Regions from separate parts of the Homo sapiens genome. Here region 2 is linked to region 1. Evidence: promoter capture Hi-C in 16 types of primary human blood cells and fetal thymus (Javierre and others, 2016). All regions are on one chromosome and are shown on one strand. The core of a region is centred on a gene start or on the middle of the fragment in contact, and the rest is flanking DNA. Distances in the headings are between cores, read along the strand shown.

Region 1 (4,720 bases), core at 894-3,393:
GAGGAAGGGAACACCCAGGATTTCCCTCTTTGCTCATTCATCCAAAACCATTCTGAGGCACCCCTGCCCACCCACAGGTGCTCTCAAGGCACAGCTCCCTCTGTTCCCTCTGTCACCATGGTAGAGAACATAGGTGGCTCCCGAAGCACAGAAAGCAGACAGCAACTGCACCAAGATGTAAATGGGGAGCTTGACCCAGGGGAGGCGTCCAACGATGCACATGGCCAGGGAGAAGGCTGGATTCAGGTGGGCCCCTTCAAGTATCAAGGAAAGAAAAAGAGCATCTATTAAGTGTCACTGCCAGGCATTGTCACCAGACAACACTACTGCTCCTTCCTATAGCTCTTAAGGCAGATAGTGTAATTCTCATCACACAGCTTAGGAAATTGAGGCTCCAGATGTTACAGATGTTAAGTGACTTAGCAAAGTCACACTGTGGGCCAGGCACAGTGGCTCACGCCTGTAATCCCAGCACTTTGGGAGGCCGAGGCAGTGGATCACTTGAGGTCAGGAATTCCAGACCAGCCTGGCCAACATGGTGAAACCCCGTTTCCACTAAAAACACAAATATTAGCCAGGCGTGGTAGCAGGTGCCTGTAAAATCAGCTATTCGGGATGCTGAGGCAGGAGAATCGCGTGAACCCAGGGGCAGAGGTTGCAGTGAACAGACATCACACCACTGCTCTCCAGCCTGGGCAACAGAGTGAAACTCCATCTCAAAAAAAAAGAAAAAAAAAAAAAAAAAAGAAGAAGACACTGTGAATCCAAAGTTGGAACCTAGGTCTGTCTGCTTTTTCCACAGCAACACACTATGTCTCAAGGCTCCACCCAAGCACACCGATGCAGTGTGTATCTGGGGTACAAACAGGAGAGGTCCTGAGTGGAGATGAGCCCCCAGAGGACTTCAGGTGGGGGATACAAGAGGATAGCAGCTGCCCTTCGTGCCCTGCCATTGATTTCTGTCTAGGTGAGCCAAGCATTAGTGTGAGGAAGCAGGATGGAGAGATACAGAAAGAGGAGGGGCTGGTGGGGCCAAAGGCTTATTTCAGTCTGGGACACTGTTCAAGGGGATAATGTCCACGAGTCACAGAAGGATTTGCGTTTCCACCATCACCAGACAGACAAACTGGCATGCACATCCCACGTGCTCTGATGACCAGACCCCACCCTCCTCACCTGAGACGTTACCACCCACGTAGATGGCTATCGTAACGGCCAGAGAGCCAGCCAGAAACATGGTGAAGAAGTTGCCTTTGGTTTCTCCACTGGTGACAGCCTGGGCCACAGCTCCTTGGGTGAGGAGCTGCTGAGAAGAGGAGAGATGAGGAACAGGGAGCCCAGGAGACCAACAGGGAGAAAGGTTGGGAAGGCCAGGGGAGCAGCCAAGGAGATGAATGAGCACAGAAGACAAGCAAGGGAAGGAGAAAAGCAGAAGGAGGGAAGGGAAAAGAAATGGGGAAAGTGGAGGAAGAAGAAAGGGAAAGAATGTGGGAAAAAAGAAAAGAATTTACCCAACTCATAGGCATTTGAGGGTACAAACCCATGGCAGGGCTCAGCTTTAAAAAGTCTTATCTAAGATTCTTTCTATGGAAGAGTTCCATCAAAGCCAATTTTAAAAGCCTATGTGAAAAATAATTATTCTTGCTGCACTTTATACAATCATCAGGCCAAGTATAATAAAGCACATTGGTCTTACCATGAAAATGGTCTTTCATAAAAATGGGAAACTGAAGAGAGAAAAATTATGTTTCAAGAACTATGATACACTTGTTATTAAAGAAAGAATAAAAATGACAAGAATAAAAATGATGAAGTAGGAGAGGAAAGGAGATTAGGAGAGACGAGAGGATAAAAACGAAAAGTGATAGGGAGTTGAGAGGAAGGGGGACACCAAGAGAAAGAGATAAGGACAACAGAAGGAGCCAGGAACTTTTGCCCAACCCCCTTCTTTCCTTCCCGCAGTGATCCTACCTACCATGAGTACAAACACACCCAGAAACTCTGCCAGGCACTGCCGGGCCAGGAGGCTGCGTATCCGGAGGTGGCCCATGATTTCAGCCGGGGCCTGAGTGAAGACCATGGTGGAAACACCCTATTGCTATTCACTGCTCCCTCTGTCTGCATAGGCACACTGTCACTGCACAGCTACTGCCTGCCTCCAGCAAAGATAAGGAACAGACTTTAAAACCATTAGCTCAGTTCCTGAACAGCAGCTACGTGTCTGTGCACGTGTGTAGGCTAGGAAACAGAGAGATAACAAGAGAATGTCTGGGAGCAGGCTATGAACACAGAGCCTGGAGTTTACCCAACCTCTGTCTCTTTTACCCTTCATTCCCAGTCATCACAGGACTAGCCTCCCCCATCCTGACAAATAGAAGGAAGTACCCCGCTTCATAGACATTAGATCTCTTGGTCCTGAAGTCAGCTCTGCAAAGTAGTACTATTGCTTCCATTCTACAGATGAGGCTAGTGGGCCTTAGAACTCCCCAAGATCAAACTTTTTTTTTTTTTTTTTCTGAGAGAGAGTCTTGCTCTGTCCCCCAGGCTGGAGTGCAGTGGCACCATCTCAGCTTACTGCAACCTCCACCTCCCAGGTTCAAGCAATTCTCCTGCCTCAGCCTCCCAAGTAGATGGGACTACAGGTCCATCACACCTGGCTAATTTTGATATTTTTTAGTAAAGACTTGGTTTCTCGGGAGGCCGAGGCAGGCAGATCACGAGGTCAGGAGATCAAGACTATCCTGGCCAACATGGTGAAACTCCATCTCTACTAAAATACAAAAAAATTAGCGTGGTGGTGCACGCCTGTAGTCCCAGCTACTCGGGAGGCTGAGGCAGGGGAATCACTTGAACCAGGGAGGCGGAGGTTGCAGTGAGCCGAGATTGTGCCACTGCACTCCAGCCTGGCAACAGAGCGAGACTTTGTCTCAAAAAAAAAAAAAAAAAAAAAGACGGGGTTTCACCATGTTGGCCAGGCTGGTCTCAAACTCCTGACCTCTAGTGATTCACCTTCCTTGGCCTCCCAAAGTGCTGGGATTACAAGCGTGAGCCACCGTGCCCGGCCCAAGATCACACAATTATTTCATGGCTGAGTGAATTCAAATCCAGATTTTCTGACTCTCCAGCTGGTAACCCACAAAGCCTCTCATTTAGAACCTGAAGCCTTACCCCAAACCATTTGGATGCTTGAAGAACTCAATAGGCATCTGGAAAGACTGGGCTAAAGACCACAGACTGTGGGAATGAAACTCACATATTGAGTGCTTGTACTTCCCTTATGCCGAGTGTCACATAGGTTAGAGAATACTCCATCTTTGTGTCCCCTGACATGGCTTGACATGAGGCCTTCACACTCATGCTGAGCTCCACCTGGCCTTCTCTGGGTGCATGCCACTCTTGCTCTGCATGAAGTAACCGCATCCTACTTCTTCATATCTCAAGGCTCCAATTAAATGCATTCAAAGAATCTACGTCTAGACACTGGAGAAACAGTGGTGAACAAAACATAGTCTCTGCCCTCCTAGAGCTTATGTTCTAGTAGGTGGAAACAGACAATATGCAACTTTTTAAAATACCATATACAGTTTATGAAGTTCTTGAGGGCTACCATTATGATTTATGTAACCCTGTGGGCTCTACCACTGTCCTGGGCACATCTGTGTGACTAGTAAAGAAATAATATTTCTTTACTAGGTTTAATGGATACTATAGTGCTCCACCCAGATTCCCCCTTGGGAGCCAATATGCCCATTCGCTACATGTAGGAAATACCAGCTGCTGATACCACATAGCTACCTCCCTCATTGGGCAATGCCCTTCAAGTCAGAAAGATGCCTCACCGAAGGTTACATGCCCTCCTATGGGGCCCATGTCAAACACTGATTGATGGAGGGATATAAAAGTCTAGCCTCTTTGCCTCACTTTGCGACAACTCTAAAGGGCTGTTCCAGCTCCAGTTCCCCCATAGGATCCATTTAGGCATCTGTTATATCATCCATGTGTGTCAGTTTCTCCTGGTGCCTAATCTTGTTACAGGAAAGGGGTCTGAATCCAGATCCCAAGAGAGGGTTCTTGGATCTCACACTAGAAATAATTCAGGCTGAGTGCGGCGGCTCATGCCTGTAATCCTAGCACTTTGGGAGGCCAAGGCGGGATCACAAAGTCAGGAGATTGAGACCATCCTGGCTAACATGGTGAAACCCCGTCTCCATTAAAAATACAAAAAAATTAGCCGGGCATGGTGGTGGGCGCCTGTAGTCCCAGCTACTTGGGAGGCTGAGGCAGGAGAATGGCATGAACCCGGGAGGTGGAGGTTGCAGTGAGCCGAGATCGCACCACTGCACTCCAGCCTGGGTGACAGAACGAGACTCCGCCTCAAAAAAAAGAAAAAAAGAATTCAGGGCGAGTCCATAGAGTAAAGTGAAAGCAAGTTTATTAGGAAAGTAAAGGAATAAAACAATGGCTACTCCATAGACAGAGCAGCCCCGAGGGCTGCTGGTTGCCCATGTTTATGGTTGTTTCTTGATGATATGCTAAACAAGAGGTGGATTATTCATGCCTCCCCTTTTTAGACCATATAGGGTAACTTCCTGTCATTGTCATGGCATTTATAAACTGTCATGGCATGAGCCACCATGCCCGGCCATGACCTGTATCTTATGGCAACCTCCTATCTCATTCTGTAACTTAGAATGCTTTAACCATCTGGGAATGCAGCCCA
Region 2 (4,294 bases), core at 1,146-3,645, 120 kb before region 1:
TCCTTTCTTTTATGAAATTATGGTGATGGTAAATGCTAATAGTTATTTATCACTTACTTGTTACATTTTATGTCCTTACTTAGCAAAATTAAAAGCTGGCAACCAGCCGGGCACGGTGGCTCATGCCTGTAATCCCAGCACTTTGGGAGGCCGAGGTGGGTGGATCACCTGAGGTCAAGAGTTAAGACCAGCCTGACCAACATGGAGAAACCCCGTCTCTACTAAAAATACAAAATTAGCCGGGCATGATGGCGCATGCCTGTAATCCCAGCTACTCAGGAGGCTGATGCAGGGGAATTGCTTGAACTCAGGAGGTGGAGGTTGCGGTGAGCTGAGATCACGCCATTGCACTCCAGCCTAGGCAACAAGAGCGAAACTCCGTTTCAAAAAAAAAAAAAAAAAGCTAGCAACTTTAATTGGTCCCCAGAATTGTTTTTGAAATTTTACAGACCCGTGAAATCCCAACGTTTAGGAATCACCCAGTTGTGCACAAGGATGTCAGGCGGATAGGCAATGCGAGGATGAGGGAGGAGGGTCGTGGAGAGGGGCACGAAGAGTGGAGTGCAACAGAATGGCTGACTGCTAGATGCTATTGAGATGTGGCAAGAACCCAAACCAAGGCAGAGACATTTGGTGCGATGTGCAAGCTCCTGGCTGGGTAGCTGGGTGGGTGGGGTGTCCCCTGGACAAGCAGGGCAGGGAGATCTGTGAGGGGTGTGATATGTTTGGTTTGGGTCATGCGGAGCACCTGGCACAGGAGGGAGGATCTGGCCAGAAGTCTGGGCCAAGTTGAAGACATGAATCCAAAGCTCGAGAGACAGGCTTGGCAGGAGATACGGGTGAAAGGCAGTCATGCTGGCATTTATTGCACCCTTGTCATGTGCCAGGCTCTGTGCTAATTGCTTCTCACCTCACTGAAGCCTCACAACCCAGCAAGGCTGGGGTTTGGGTTTTTTGAGGCAGGCATTATTATTCCCATTTGACAAATAAGCAAACTGAGTCTCAGTGAGGTACTTCCCCAGGGTCGTGCTAGTCAAGGGCAAGGGCAGCAACTAGACCCAATGCTGCCTGACTCCAGAGCCAGTGCTCTGCACAAAGTGGCAGGTGATGCAGTGGAAGTGGGCGGGGCCCCAGTGGAATGTTCCAGAAAGCTGCAGAAAACAGGGCAGAGAGGGAATTCAGGGATGCCATATGGATAAGTGAACAGGGCAAAATCTCTCCGGAAATGTGTAACCAAGGCTCTTTAACCCCAGAATGTCCCACTTGGGAGTGCTGCAGAGAGGAACAAAACAAACTCCTCCAGAATGGATGGCCAAAGAGTTTGAGAAGATAACGTGTAGCTGGAGGCACTGACCGCCCAGTCCTGGCTTCAGGGCACCCCCTCATGTGCAAATGCAAACCTTTGGTATCACCTCCTCCAACAGGTGTGATTCCCATTCTTGGGGAATAGGAGAGGGAGTTAAAGGGATTATTTGTGAGAAGCAAGGAATAACCCCCTTATACCTAATGGGCTTTTCCCAGGCATTTTGCCCCACGCCCTCTTTGAAAAGGGGCTCCAGCCTGGCACAGTGGCTCATGGCTATAAATCCCAGAGCTTTGGGAGGCTGAGGCAGGAGGATCACTCAAGGCCTGTGCAACATAGGGTGACCTCATCTCTGTAAAATATTTTTTAAAAAATTAGCTGGGCATCGTGATGCATGCCTATAGTCCTAGCTACTCAGAGGCTGAGGCAGGAGTTCAAGGCTGGAGTGAGCTATGATTATGCCACTGCACTCCGGCTTGGGCAACAGAATGAGATACCATCTCTGAAAAAAAAAAAAAAGAAGAAAATGATTTTGTGATTCCCCCAGACTCAATGTTGATGTGACAGGGAGAACTCCCATCAGGAGAGGATAAATTCAGAACTCCCGCTTGAGAGAAAGCTGCCGACCGTGCTGGCCTTGCTGGCCAAAGCAGGGCTAAGACAGAGTGACCCTGGGACCCCCAACTTCATACAAAAGGCTATCCTGGGCTACAGTCTGTGCGGGGGGCCAGGCCCCAGCCTCAAGGGGGCAGCACCTGCTGAAGTCCAGGCTCCAGAGCCCCACTCTATGGCATTCCACTTCCACTCCTACAGGGGCCCACCAAGGCCGGCCTCCACCTGTCCCACTCAGACCACCCACCCACACACGTGTCGGCCTCACCAAGCAGCTCTCTGCCACCCTCCCCTTGCTCACAGCTCCGTGCCTTTGTACTCTGCCTACAATCCCCATTTTCTGTCTGGGACCCTCCTACACATCCTTCAAGACATAATTCAATTGTCACCTCCTCCATGAAGCTTTTCCTGCTATCTCTAAACTGCCCCAACAGAACAGTCTGCTTACGGCCTTATCGTGCTGTGAACACCATCTATTACGTATTAGACATACTACAGTGGGGCACGCACCCTCCTCCAGCCCCCTCAAGCACATACTAAAACCACCAGGAAAGCTTTCTCAAACCACCCACTCTACTTCCTCCTCCAGATTCCAATGCAGTGAGTTCACGATGGCATCCAGGATAGTGATTCTGGGATGCCCCTGGTCCCACTCTCCTCCCAAGAACCAGCACTGTCCTGTAATTGCTGATCCCCTTACAAATGCAGTATGCTTTAGCATTTCTAAAGAATATTTTTTCATCAGACTCACAAAAACTCTCTGAAAGGAACAAGATTGGTGCTATCATCTCTACTTTACCGATGACAAGACTGAGGCTCTGAGAGCTGAACTAACTTTACCAGTGTCATACAACCTGACTCCCAGGTGCTTCCCAGGACCTCTGTGTCTCCCAAAGGCCACCACTCCCACACCTAGTCTGGGAGGCAGGTGCATCCTGTCTGTCTGGGCCTTGAGAGCTGAAGGTCCTTGGGGTGGGTAAGCTCACCCCACACGGTGATACAGTGTTTAGTACACTGATGCGTCCCTAACAGCCAAATAACCGTGGTCCATAACACACACCTCACCTAGTGCTCTAACCTTCCCCTTATTTTTCAGAACTGCCCGCCAATTTCCAACCTGAATCCCCCTCTTGCGTCAAAATCATCCAAGTTCCTCTTGCTCTTCCCTCAGCAGAGAGGGGAGCAGCAGGTTTCTTTCTTGGATATATTCACAACTGGGTTTTGAAGACTTCCCCTGCCTCAAACCACACATGCATAGGGTGGAGGGCTCAAAGTCTTCCGCTCCTTACATGAGAAGAAACCGACTGTTCTATCTGAGCTCCCACAGAAGCTGTGTCTATGCCAAAGAAGCACATCCACCTGAGGCTGGAAAGTGGAGACCGTACCCAGTGCTGGCCAGACAGCCCCCACCACACCATCTTCCAATAGAAGGAGAGTGTCAGCAACTTAAAGAGGGACATCCACAAATGAGACCAGATTCAGGGGAAGGGGGCCAGAAAGGTGAAGAATTCACAGACCATCTCATGTAACAGCCTGGGAAGAGGAGCCCAAGCAGATGCAGGTCTGGGAACTCCAAAAGAATTCAGAGAGAGCAGACTAGGAAATTTGTCATTGGTTATCCCTGAGAACAGAGCAAGGGCCAGTGAGGCCAGAGTTAGGTTCACATAAGAAAGAACTTTCTATTTGAATAGATATTTCTCCAAAGATATATGAATGGCCAAGAAGCACATGAAAAGATCCTCAGCCTGGGTGTGGTGGCTCACGCCTGTAATCCCAGTACTTTGGGAGGCATAGATGGGCAGATCACTTGAGGTCAGGAGTTCAAGAGCAGCCTCGCCAACATGGCAAAGCCCCGTCTCTGCTAAAAATACAAAAATTAGCTGGGTGTGGTGGTGCATGCCAATCTCAACTACTCGGGAGGCTGAGGCACGAGAATCACTTGAACCCCAGGAGGTGGAGGTTACAGTGAGCCAAGATCGCCCCACTGCACTCCAGACTGGGTGACAGGGTGAGACTCTGTCTCAAAAAAAAAAAAAAAAAGACATTAATCATTAGGGAAATGCAAATCAAAACCACAGTGAGATAACACTTCACATCCATAAGGAGGACTATTGCAGCAAAATGAAAAATAACAAATGTTGGCAAGGATGTGGAGAAACTGGAACCCTTATACACTCTGGTGTAAGTGTAAAATGGTGCAGCCACTGTGGAAAACGGCATGGCATTTCCATGAAAATTTAAAAATAGAATTACCATATAATGCCACAATTATAATTCTGAGTATATACACAAAAGAACTGAAAGCAGGAATCTAAACAGATATTTTACACCCGTGTTCATAGCAGCATTATGCACAACCAAAATGGGGAAGCAAACCCA

The links. Contacts are between HindIII fragments. The CHiCAGO score rates a contact against its expected background, and 5 or more counts as called.
Region 2: a fragment that was not itself captured here is called in contact with the fragment with the promoter of AQP10 in region 1 in 2 of 17 cell types (activated CD4 T cells and non-activated CD4 T cells); the score reaches 6.2 in activated CD4 T cells.

The regions. Positions count from the first base shown.
Region 1 is chr1:154,318,516-154,323,235 of GRCh38, reverse strand. AQP10 (aquaporin 10) reads right to left here and starts at 2,143. Exons shown (of 6, transcript NM_080429.3): 1 at 1,976-2,143; 2 at 1,177-1,303; 3 at 117-254. The coding sequence starts at 2,080. RefSeq lists a silencer at 2,173-2,364. The HindIII fragment of the contact is 12,155 bases long and covers 1-4,720 here.
Region 2 is chr1:154,440,317-154,444,610 of GRCh38, reverse strand. The region is part of intron 6 of IL6R (interleukin 6 receptor); the gene reads right to left. Among named protein-coding and RNA genes, the nearest start is that of IL6R-AS1, 36 kb to the right of the region's middle. RefSeq lists a silencer at 1,976-2,075. The HindIII fragment of the contact is 152 bases long and covers 2,320-2,471 here.